Linked DNA regions of Homo sapiens: region 1 is linked to region 2. Evidence: promoter capture Hi-C in human tissues and cell types (Jung and others, 2019). All regions are on one chromosome and are shown on one strand. The core of a region is centred on a gene start or on the middle of the fragment in contact, and the rest is flanking DNA. Distances in the headings are between cores, read along the strand shown. Region 1 has its middle 9.2 kb from the start of RASA4B. Region 2 holds the start of RASA4 (RAS p21 protein activator 4).

Region 1 (6,204 bases), core at 3,578-6,077, 88 kb before region 2:
AGAGAAAATTCAGAGACAGAGAGGGCTGCTCTGAACACCCAGACTGAAGTAGGGGTGAGGGTGGGGGGAATGTTACCCCCAGTTTTCCCAGGGACCCCTTGTGGGAGGTGGGGTGGGAAGAGGTTGCAGGTCCCCTCTGGGCATCTCAGGGGTGTCTGAGAATGGTCTCCAGCAGAGGCGAAGGTGGACAGAGGCAGGCATAGGGCTGGTGACAGGTGTCACCTTAGGACGTGCCCTGAGTCCATGGGTATCCCAAAAGTGAGCAGGGCATGGCTGCCACGAGGGCTTCAGCACTGCAGTAAAGAGAGGGTTTCTGTGTGGTCTTAGACTCTGATGCTCTCCTTTCCCTTTTTTCTTTCTTTCTTTTAAAATGTTTGTTTGTTTGTTTGTTTTTTGACACAGAGTCTCGCTCTGTTCCCCAGGCTGGAGTGCAGCGGCGTGGTCTTGGCTCATTGCATCCTCTGCCTCCCAGGTTCAAGCAATTCTCCTGCCTCAGCCTCCCAAGTAGCTGGGATCACAGGCACCTGCCACCATACCCAGCTAATTTTTTGTGTGTTTTTCGCAGAGACGGGGTTTCACCATGTTGGCCAGGCTGGTCTCCAACTACTGACCTCAAGTGATCCTCGGCCTCCCAAGGTGCTGGGATTACAGGTGTGAGCCACCATGCCCGGCCAAAATTGTTGTTGTTGTTATTGTTTTTCTTTTTGGAGGGCTGGGCATGATGGCTCATGCCTGTAACCCCAGCTACGCCGGAGGCTGAGGCACGAGAATCACTTGACCCTGGGAGGTGGAGGTTGCAGTGAGCTGAGATGACAGAGTGCCTGACTGAGCTGAGATGACAGAGTGCCTGAGTGACAGAGTAAGACTCTGTCTCAAAAAAATAATAATTAAAAAAAAGAAAAGAAAAAGAAAAAAACTTCTAAATTTTTTGTAGAGATGATGTCTCACTGTGTTGCCCAGGTTGGTCTCCAACTCCTGGACTTGAGCCATCCTCCCACCTTGGCCTCCCAAAGTGCTGGGATTAGAGCTGTGAGCCACTGCATCCCACCTGTACCCTTTCCTCTGAGGCCTCCTGGAGCTGCAGTCCCTTAATCCCCTCAGCCCCAGCCCCTGTGGGTGAATACTGCTGCCCCCCTCAAAGTGAGAAACTGACACGTAGCAAGGCAAGTGAAGCCCCAGGAGTGGGTGTTACCTGCCAGCCCAAAGCCGGGAGTCCAGAGTCTTGGGTCCAGATCTCTGCTATAGACTCTGGGAGCAACCAAGGACACACTGCTCCCACTGAGACTGGAGATGGTCCCAGGGGGCTTCCTGGAAGAGGCGGCACCTGAGCTGGGCTTGAAGGAGAAGAGCTGGGGCTGGGAGAAAGAACAGGAGGAAGGGCTGGGAAGTGGGGGAAAGAGTCCAGGTGCAGCTCTGAGGGCACTCCCCGAGCAGAGACGGCCCAGGGCTGGGGGAGACAACGTGATTCCAAGGGGACTCTCGCCTCCAGAACCCTGTGCAGGACCTGGCCAGGCCTCTTCTGACTCCACAAGGAGAAAAATGTGTGTGCAAGCGAGGGGACTTGGGATGGGGCCAGTGCAGCTGCGGCTGGAACGTAAACCTGTCGTGGCTTCTGGCGCCATGGCCACCCCCAGCCGGGGAAAGGGCCCCGGCTCGGCTGATGAGAACCAGGAGCCAGGATGGAGCCACAGTGGGGGCATGGGAGGGTGAGGGTGACGGCTCTTGTTTTTCAGCTTGACCCTTGCCCATCCACTACTCCCCCATCCACTACTCCCACAGATCCTGGGCACTGTGGGTAACTGGAACCCTGGCCTCTAGATGCCCCCAGCCCTTGGATCACTGGTGTCCCCCCACCACTTAGCCGTCCCCAGTAGGCCCCCCACCATCCCCCTGCATCTCTGCCTTGGCTCTGCCTGGGATCTTCTGCATGGCTGTTCCCCCATCCCTCCAGTGCCTGACGCCACCCAGTGTCTTGCTAACCCACAATTCTCCGGACTACTCCATGGATGCTTGCTGGATAGACGCGGACATTTTCCATACAGAGAACTGCACAAATATTTTATTTATTTTTTTGAGATAGGGTCTCGCTCCGTTGCCCAGGCTGGAGTGAAGTGGTGTGATCATAGCTCACTGCAGCCTCAATCTCCTGGGCCCAAGCAATCTTTCCACCTCGGCCTCCTAAGTAGCTGGGACTACAGGTGCATGCCAGCATGCTCAGATAATTAAAAAAAAAAATTTTTTTTTTAGAGTCAGGGGGCTCACTATGTTGCTCAGGCTGGTCTCGAACTCCTGGCTTCTAGCAATCTGCCCACCTCAGCCTCTCAAAGTGCTAGGATTCCAGGTGTAAGCCACCACATTCAGCTAAAGTGCACAAATCTTATGTGGACAGCTCGAGGAAGTCTTACACAGGCCTACGACTGCATGACCATCTCCCAGATCAAGAACTAGAACATTCCCAGCCCCAGGTGGCTTCCTTGTGTCCCATACCAGTCATCACCACCTCCAGGAATAACTTCTACCCCAATTTATTGCCATGGATTACTCCCACCTGCTTTTTTGAGATAGGGTCTCACTCTGTTGCCCAGACTGGAGTGCAGTGGCACAATCACAGCTCACTGCAGCCTCCAACTTCTGGGCTCAAGTGATCCTCCTGCCTCAGCCTCCTGAGAAGCTGGGATGATAGGCCTGCACCACCACGCCCGGCTAATTTTTTATTTTTTTTAAGATGGGGTCTTGCTATGTTGCCCAAGCTGGTCTCAAACTCCTGGGCTCAAGCGATTCACCCCCCACAACTGGCCTCCCAAAGTGCTGGGATTACAGGTCTGAGCCACTGTGCCCACCCGGCCCTCCTGCCTGCTTTTGCTCTTTATATAAATGGAATCCTACAGTGTATATTTGCTTGTGCCTGGCTTCTTTGCCAATGTTACATGCAGGGGAGTCACCCATGTTGCTGAATAGCATTCTACGGTGTGGGCGGAGGCCTCACAACCTGCCTCTTCACTAGCCTGTGGATGAACGTCTGTTGTTTCCTGTTTGGGTCTGTTATGAAGAAGGCTGATCTGAATGTTCTTGCACATGTCTTTTTTTTTTTTTTTTTTTTGAGACGGAGTCTCACTCTGTGGCCCAGGCTGGAGTGCAATGGCGCAGTCTTGGCTCAATGCAGCCTTCACCTCCCGGGTTCAAGCGATTCTCCTGCCTCAGCCTCCCGAGTAGCTGGGACTATAGGCACCCACCACCAGGCCTGGCTAATTTTTGTATTTTTAGTAGAGACGGGGTTTCAATATGTTGGCCAGGCTGGTCTCGAACTCCTGACCTCAAGTGATCCGCTCCCCTTGGCCTCCCAAAAGACATGTTTGGGAGGCTCAGTGCTCATTTCTCATGGGGAGATGTCTAGAAGCAGAATTGCTGGGGCCTGGGGCAGGCGTAGAACACTGGATTCTAAACAGGCCGGTTCTTACTGTGCCTCTCCGAGCATTTCACACGCATTCCCACCACCTTCCCAGGGGACCTACCACGTGTCTCCTTCACCTCCCTTTATTCTCCCAGTAACAGAAACTTCAGATCCATCAGCCTCTGTTTTGCAGAGCAGAGCAGCCCTCCTGACCTTGCTCCTGTCCTGGTGGGCCCAGGGCACACCCGTCACAGCTAAAGGGCCCACTGGTTTGGCCAACAAGGAGAGAGCCCTTTCCTGCAGGCTGAGAGCCTCTGTCTCTCTCTCTCTCTTTTTTTTTCTTTTTTTTTTGAGATGGAGTCTCGCTCTGTCACCCAGGCTGGAATGCAGTGACGTAATCTTGGCTCACTTCAGCCTCTGCCTCTGGGGTTCAAGTGATTCTCCTGCCTCAGCCTCCCAAGTAGCTGGGTTTACAGGTGCATGCCACCATGCCCGGCTAATTTTTGTATTATTTATTTATTTATTTATTTATTTATTTATTTATTTTTAGTAGAGATGGAGTTTCACCTTATTGGCCAGGCTGGTCTCGAACTCCTGACCTCAACTGATCCACCCACCTCGGCCTCCCAAAGTGCTGGGATTCCAGGCATGAACCATCACGCCCAGGCCCTGAGAGCTTCTCTCATGGCACTTTGGGACTGTCTGTTTGCAGTCCATCCCTCTGTGGGCTGGTCACCCCTTTACCCCCAGGATAGAGACTGTGGTCAAGCTATTCCTGCACCCAGTGCCCAGCACACAGCTTGATGTGGACAACAGGGAACCGGCGGCTCACAGAAAGGTGGGGTGGGAGAGAACAGCTTAGAGGCAAATGTCTCCTACTTTGAGGACTAAGTCCAGAGATGTAGCTTCAAGGTCCAGTTTCTCTGCTTGGGCCTGGGGAAAGCTTTTCACTTTTTGGGATTTTAGTATGAGCCTGGTGTCCCTCCAGGGTCCAGGTGGGCCCTTCCATTCACCCCAGCCTTAGACCCAAGGCAGATGAGTTGAGTACAACCAAGAACCACTGGCCACACCCTTCCCAGGCCCTGAGAGGTCACTTCCTGGACAGCCCAGGCTGGAACCGGCCCACAGTGGGAAGAGAAGGGGTCTCCCACTGGAGATAAGGCCTCCAGTCAATGTCTCTGACATTCATGGAGATCCCTCTGGGGCTCGGTGGCTGGTCAGAGGGGTCGAGGCAGGGCCCTGGGCAGTGGGTGGACAGGGTCCGTGATCAGAGGGACCGTCACCCAGCCCGCCCTTGGACGTCAGCCCAGACCCAGGTTCCTCTCTTCCCAGAAGTTCATCCCCCTAAATGGACTTACGTGCTTAGCTCTCATTAACCTTCTGAACCTTCCAGAAAGGGAGTGGAAATGTCCTGCCTCATCTCCTGCTGAGGAAGCCTGGGTAGGAGTGGAGGAAGATAAAGGGACCCCCCCAAGGGCTGCTGCTGGGGCCAGAGATGTGGGGGTCCCAGGCAAGGGTGTTGTCCTGAGCAGAGTCTCTGCACCGGCTGGGTCACCAAGGAGGCTCTGCAAGTTCATCCAGCAGAGGTGGGAGAGCTGAACACCCCTGCCTCTCTCTTAGGGATCCTTGACTCCCTCTGCACCAGCCCAGCAGTCCCCCGCCAGCCGCCCCTCACTTCCCTCCTCCAGCAATTCTTTTTATTGTTTTTTTGAGACGGAGTCTTGCTCTGTCGTACAGTGGTGCGATCTCGGCTCACTGCAACCTCCGCCTCCCGAGTTCAAGCAATTGCCCTGCCTCAGGCTCCCGAATAGCTGGGATTACAGGCACTCACCACCACGCCCAGTTAATTTTTGTATATTTAGTAGAGACGAGGGTTTCGCCATGTTGGCCAGGCTGGTCTCGAACTCCTGACCTCAAGTGATCCACCCACCTCAGCTTCCCAAAGTGCTGGGATTACAGGTGTGAGCCACTGCACCCAGCCCAAGGGCCCATCTTAACACTGCTACTGTGCATGAGGCTTGTGCTGGGCAGGGGCTCCCTGGGCTGGGCTGAAGTGACCTGGGTAGCTGGCATGGGTGGTCTGGGTCTCCAGGTCTGTGTTCTCATTTCTCATCTGTCTCCCTCCGTCCCTTCACCCCAGCAGAGACAGATTACAGCCTGCACCATGGGTGGCCAGGAGATAATCTTTCTTTTAATTTTGTATTTTATTTATTTATTTATTTTTTGAGACACAGTCTCGCTTTGTCACCCAGGCTGGAGTGCAGTGGCGCAATCTCAGCTCAGTGCAACCTCCAACACCTGGGTTCAAGCGATTCTCCTGTCTCAACCTCTTGAGTAGCTAGGATTACAGGCGTGTGCCACCATGCCCAGCTAATTTTTGTATTCAAGATATTCCTTTGGATTCGATATACTCTTTTTTTTTTTTTTTTTTTTCGAGATGACGTCTTGCTCTGTCACCCAGGCTGGAGTGCAGTGGCGCTATCTCAGCTCAGTGCAACCTCTGCCTCCCAGGTTCAAGAGATTCTACTGCCTCAGCCTCCTGAGTAGCTCGGATTACAGGTGTAAACTACCACGGCCAGCTAATTTTTGTATTCGAGATATTCTTTTTGTTGTTGTTGTTGTTGAGACAGAGTCTCACTCTGTTGCCCAGGCTGGAGTGCAGTGGCACAATCTTGGCTCACTGCAATCTCCACCTCTCTGGTTCAAGAGATTCTCCTGCCTCAGCCTCCCAAGTAGATGGGATTACAGGCACCCACCATCACACCCGGCTAATTTTTGTATTTTTAGTAGAGACAGAGTTTCACCAAGTTGGC
Region 2 (6,226 bases), core at 2,098-4,597:
CCCACTACTGGGCTGCTACTGCTTCCAAAGGCCTGGAAGCAGGACCCGAGTCCTGGTGTGCAAGGACTATGAAGAGCCGGGTGGCTGGATCAGAGGTGGGGCAAGAGGACGGTATTGAGAGCAGGCCGAGGCCAGATTTAAGGACCTGGGCCCAACCATGGTCCCCAGTGGGCTGCTGGGACCCAAGCCCTGCCCAGTTCCTTCTTCGCTAGTGTTGAGGCCCCTAGGCTGCCCACCTCTCTCATTTCTCCTTTCCCGAGCCAGTTGCCACTGGCCTGTCTGGCTACTTTCGGGGCCTCTATATTTAGGGCCTTGGCAGTTTCTAGGCTGTGGAAGGAGGAGGATCAGGGAAAACCCCAAAATAGCCTTGGGCCAGTCCCCAAGGCCACTTGGTGTGGGAGGCAGTGGGTCACTGGTCATCGTGAGACTTGGCTCATGCCTAGGTACGTGGGGACGAGAGACAGTGGGAAGAGGCAGGGCAGGAACAGGCAGGCTCTGAAAGCTAGCAGTGATGGGGAATGCAGCTGCGCTCTGTGCCCTTTAGAGGAATAAAAACCCATGAGTAGAAGTGGCAGGAAGGCAGCTGGCAGCTGTGTGAGGACAGCTTCCTCCTTGGAACTGTCTCAGTCAAGATGAGCCACTATGAGAGGTGGTAAGCTCCCCGTCCTCAGAAGTATGCAAGCCCTGGCTGGAGGAGATGCTACTCAGAAGATAGGCGGGGTGCTGGTGAGGCACAGTGAAACTCCAGTACTCAGTGAGGGCCTCCCATGATCTCCAAACCCCTGCCCGACTCTGCAGCCAAATGCTTTGCATAGGATTTCCGAGGCTCAGTCTCACTGAGCCCAGCCGCAAGCTTACAGCCGCGGGCAGGCTAGAATTCTCAGCCTGTCGGCAGCAAAGGCAATCTGAATCCTGACTTCTCTACCTACCCTCTTGGCAAATGGCTTTCACTTCCTGAGCCTCAGTTTCCCAATGTGCAAACCGAGGATGTCTATCTTATAAAGCTAAGAAGAGGATTAAGTGGGGGAAGTCCTCAACACCTCTTATTCTCCCTACTATGGACCCGGTGCCAGGATGAATGAGTCACAGTCCCTGCCCTCACAGTCAGCTGGGACAGGCACCACTTGACGGAGGAACTGCCACACCAGGGGCTTCCTCCTGCCACCCAGAGTGCTGGGGGGCGAGCCCAGGAGCCAGGAACTCTGCCCAAGTGCACCAGGGAATGCCCTGGAGAGGAGAAGTTTGAGAGGAGTCCTGAACATTGAATAGGAGTTTTCTGGAGGACTGAAGTGGAGTGCTTGAAGGCAGAAGTCCCCACACATGGGCGAAAGCAGAGATGTGAAGGGTAGTAGCCCAAATGTGAGGGACTGTTTATGGGATGGTTTAAGAGGCGGCTGACAGGTCAGAGCTGTGTATGCAAGCCACAGGGGAAGATGGGGGGTTGCAAAGGAGACGTGAGTAGGGCAGGCAGGGGGGCAGGGTGAGGATCGAGATCCCAAGGCACCCCTCCACTGTAGATGGAACCCCTTTGCCCAGAGGCAAAGCACTGAGCAGGGAACCAGGCACTGGGCTCCCAGGTGGGCATACTCCAAGAGCTTGGCTGCCCTGGGCTGGAGAGAGCCTGGAGCCAGGCACTAGGGCCAGCTGCTGTGGGGATGAGGAGGGAGGCGACAGACGGAGGGGCTGCTCCTCCCAGCTGCCACCAGCCAGAAGAGGCCAAGATGACCTAGTTCCTAGTGCCAGTGGTGGCAGGGGGTGGGGGATGCTTAAAGGCTGGGCCTGGAGGCTGAGACCCTTCTCAGAGCTCCTCTGCCTTCCCAGCCCACAGACCTCACTGCCAGCTCCCACTCCACCTCCCTCCAAGCCTCCAAGCACAGAAACCCACCTAGGGATGCCCACCGCCCTCCCTTCCCCATTGTCATGGTAACTGCTGAGCTGGGCCTCATCAGACCCAGGGGGCCTGGAACTGGCACTGCTCTCGGTGGTGGCGCGCTGAGCTTGCTGGGAAGCTCACAGGGGCCACCACACATATGTGTGAGCAGAGTGCCTGCCCCCCACCCTGCTCCACCCCCTCGCCCATGCTAGCCACTTCTCTGCATCCAGGAGCCCGGGGCGCCCAAGGGGTGGGGAACTGCAGCTCCGCAGACTTTGGACTCTGTTTCCTCCAGGCTCCACTTTTCCCCCTCCCACCCTCCTCCTCCAGGCAGCCAGTGCCCCTTGACCTTTGAGCTTTCCCCCTCTTCCTCTAGAGGGATTTCAACCCCTAGTTTAAAGAGGGGAAACTGAGGCTCTAGGAGCAGGGAGCTGCCTAAACCCTGTACATGAGGAAGGTGGTGGCAAGACCAAGATGGTGGGCCAGGGGTCAGGCAGCTCAGCCCTGGGACCTACTGAGAAGAGTGGAACAAGGGGCCCCTGAAACCTCCCCAAATCGAGCCAGGGACCAGGGGAATCCCCAGATGTCAGTGCCTGTGAGAAGCCCTAGACTCAAGACCCTGCTCTGCCTGCCACTTGGAGCCAGCATTTCACTTCTCTGAACCTCAGTTTTCTCATCTGTAAAATGGAACGGTGAGAACTGCCTTTCGGGGTGGTTGAGAGGATTAACGGGATGGCTCAGGTGTAAAGCCCAAGGCACAAGCGACAGTTACTACCCTCCTTCCCTCCCCCACAGTCCTGCACCTGTCCTGGCCTCCTGACCTGTTCTCACTTTTCATGCCAGTCCCTCCTACCCGAGTGCACAGCAGGAAGCCCGGGGACAGCCCCTGGGCCCCAGCATGTGCTTCAGGTGCACACTCCGGGGCATTAAGGGCTCTGGAACTACTGAGGAAGACCCTTCCTTTGCGGGGGACACCCCACCCCCTCCAACCCCACCCCGGGGGCAGATCACCAAGACGTCTCCCCTGGCATGTCACCAGGCTCCAGCTCCTGTCGTATCAAAGCCCCTTCCCCTCGTGAGCCGCGGATCGCTGACAAATTCTCGCCCCCTCCCTAGTTCCCAGCCCCCAGCCCTCGGTGACACTTCCCCGCCCCCCGGTTGTCACCCCGTCTGGTGCTCGCAGAAAATGTCACTGTCCCCATTTTCCCCGCCGATCCCCCACCACGGCCGCACTCCCGCACCCTCTCCGCTGCTCTTGTGGGTGGACCCCGGAAAGGTCAGGCGTCCTGGGGGGCAGTGCCCCTCCCCGGAAAGTTGGGGCTCCCACCCCCGGCCGCGCTCACATGTCCTTGGCGGGAAGGTTCTTCCCCTCCACGATGCGGATGTACAGCGAGCTGCGCTTGGCCATCGCGGGGTCCCGGCTCGGGGGAAGCCAGACACCGGGGTCCGGGGTGGCGGGCGGCGGGCGCTGGACTGGGCGCCGCAGGTGGGGCGGGCCGGGGAGGAGGCGGGGGCGGGGGCGGGGCGGCGGGGGCGGGGCTTCGCTGCCACTCCACTCACCCCGCCCCCGCCCCACGTGCGGGGGACACTGCGCCCGGGCCGGCCAATCCGCGACCGGGGTTCCCCAGGGCGGGGAGGGGCCGGCCGGGGCCGCAGCTCTCATTGGCCGTCTGGGGCGTGAGGGGCGGGGCCTGTGAGGAGGCGCTGACACTCGCCGGGCAGCCGGCGCGGTGGCTCGAGGGGGGCGCCCCTGGAGGAGCGGGTGGGGGACACTGCAACCTCCACCTCCCGGTTTCAAGCAATTCTTCTGTCTCAGCCTCCCAAGTAGCTGGGATTGCAGACACGCGCCACCACGCCCAGCTAATTTTTGTATTTTCGGTAGATACGGGGTTTCACCATGTTGGCCAGGCTGGTCTTGAACTCCTGACCTCAGGTAATCTGCCCACCTCGGCCTCCCAAAGTGCTGGGAATACAGGCATGAGCCATCGTGCCTGGCTGTTTTTATGTTTTTTAGAATCAGAAGAAAAAAAATATGTATTTTTTGTATTGGTTGGTTTGTGTGTGTATGTATGTATGTATGTATGTATGTATGTATGTATGTATGCATGCATTTGAAACAGGGGCTTGCTCTGTTGGCTGAAGTGCAGTGGTGCAATCATAGCTCACTGCAGCCTCAATCTCCTGGGTTCAAGCAATCCTACCACCTCAGCCTCCCATGTAGCTGGGACTACAGATGCATACCACCACGACTGGCTAATTTTTTTTATTTTTAGTAGAAATGGGGGGGTCTCATTATGTTGCCCAGGCTGGTCTAGAACTCCTGGCCTCAAGTTATCCTCCTGCCTTGGCCTCCCAAAGGGCTGGGACCACAGATGTGAGCCCACCATGCCTAGTCAAACAGGAGTATAATAGTAATGAATATGTAATAATGAATCTGACCTGACTGGTATCAGTCAGTCTTTATGCCAAAGCAGTTGTAAAATACACATTTGAATATCTTTTTTTTTTTCTTTTTTTTGGGGTGGAGTCTCGCTCTATCACCCAGGCTGGAGTGCAGTAGCGCAATCTCAGCTCACTGCAACCTCTGCCTCCCTGACTCAAGGCATTCTCCTGCCTCAGCCTCCCGAGTAGCCAGAGCTTCAGGGACCTGCCACCACGCCTGGGTAATTTCTATATTTTTAGTAGAGATGGAGTTTCACCAGGTTGGCCAGGCTGGCCTCAAACACCTGACCTCAGGTGAGCTGCCCACTTCGGTCTCCCAGAGTGTTAGGATTACAGGCGTGAGCCACCGTGCCTAGCCGTATTTGAATATCTTAACCCATATAAGTCAAACATGCCTAGGGCTCACAAAAGTTACAGTGCATCCTGGCACAGGAGAGGAGGCAGCTCTTGAGTTTCAGTGCATGCTTTTGATATTCACTATAGGTCAATGTCGTTGAAAGAAAAAGTGTTTGAGGCTGGGCACAGCGGCTCACGCCTATAATCCCAGCACTTTGGGAGGCTTGAGATGGGAGGATCACTTGAGGCCAGGAGTTCAAGCCCAGCCAGGGCAACATAATGAGACCCCCCCCCACCTTTGCTACAAAAAATAAAAATATTAGCCAGGCATGGTAGTGTGTGTCTGTAGTTCGAGCTACTCAGAAAGCCGAGGCAGGAAGATTGCTTGAGCCTAGGAGGGGAGGCTGCAGTGAGGTATGATCGCACCACTGCACTCCAGCGTGGGCGACAGAGCAAAACTCTGTCTCCAAAAACAAAAACAAAAACGAGGCCAGGCGTGGTGGCTCACACCTGTAATCCCAGCACTTTGGGAGGCCGAGGTGGGTGGATCACCTGCGGTCAGGAGTTCGAGACCAGCCTGGCCAACATGGCGAAACCCCATATCTACTAAAAATACAAAAATTAGCCGGGCGTGGTGGCAGGCGCCTGTAATCCCAGCTACTCTGGAGGCTGAGGCAAGAGAATTGCTTGAGAACCCGGGAGGCAGAGGTCGCAGTGAGCCAAGTTCGCACCATCGCACTCTAGCCTGGGTGACAAGAGTGAAACTCAGTCTCAACAAACAAACAAACAAACAAAAAAAGCAAGGAAGGAAATTCTTACACATGCTAAAAGATGGATGAAACTTGAAGACATAATGCTAAGTGAAATGAGCCAGTTACAAAGAAAGACAAATAGTGGTTGCTTCCACCTATGGGAGGTATCTGGAATAGTACAATTCACAGAAGCAGAAAGGAGAGTAGAAGTTTTCAGGGGCTGGAGCGGGGCAGGGAAAGCGAGTTGTTTGTTGAGTGTAGGGTTTCAGTATTGCAAGGTGAAAAAGTTCCAGAGATGTGCATATAGTTAATACTACTGTGCTGTCCACTTAAAAATAGTGAAGATGGGCCAGGGGCGGTGGCTCACGCCTGGAATCCCAGCACTTTGGGAGGCCGAGGTGCGTGGATCGCCTGAGGTCGGGAGTTTGAGACCAGCCTGGCCAACATGGTGAAACTCTGTCTCTACTATAAATATAAAAATTAGCTGGGCGTGGTGGTGCACGCCTGTAGTCCTAGCTATTCAGGAGGCTGAGGCAGGGAGAATCGCTTGAACCTGGGAGGTGGAGGTTGCGGTGAGCTGAGATGGCACCACTGTACTCCAGCCTGAGCGACAGAGAGAGACCTCGTCAAAAAAAAAAAAAGCTTAAGATGGGCTGGGTGTGGTGACTCATGCCTGTAATCCCAGCACTTTGGGAGGCTGAGGCGGGCAGATCACTTGAGCTCAGGAGTTCAAGACCAGCCTGGGCAACATGATAAAATTTTAAAAAATAAAGAAATAAGGCCGGGCGTGGTGGCTCACACCTGTAATCCCAGCACTTTGGGA

Evidence for each region. The method cuts DNA at HindIII sites, captures the fragments that hold promoters and counts their contacts. A contact is called where the count stands out against the background at its distance.
Region 1: a fragment that was not itself captured here is called in contact with the fragment with the promoter of RASA4 in region 2 in 4 of the 25 tissues and cell types used here (mesenchymal stem cells, neural progenitor cells, spleen and 1 more).

The regions. Positions count from the first base shown.
Region 1 is chr7:102,523,907-102,530,110 of GRCh38, forward strand. No RefSeq gene overlaps it. Among named protein-coding and RNA genes, the nearest start is that of RASA4B, 9.2 kb to the left of the region's middle. RefSeq lists enhancers at 1,068-1,569, 1,570-2,069. The HindIII fragment of the contact is 8,734 bases long and covers 461-6,204 here.
Region 2 is chr7:102,613,409-102,619,634 of GRCh38, forward strand. It overlaps RASA4 (RAS p21 protein activator 4), which reads right to left and starts at 3,348. Exons shown (of 21, transcript NM_006989.6): 1 at 3,217-3,348. The coding sequence starts at 3,281. RefSeq lists enhancers at 1-713, 1,683-2,651. The HindIII fragment of the contact is 11,664 bases long and covers 1-6,226 here.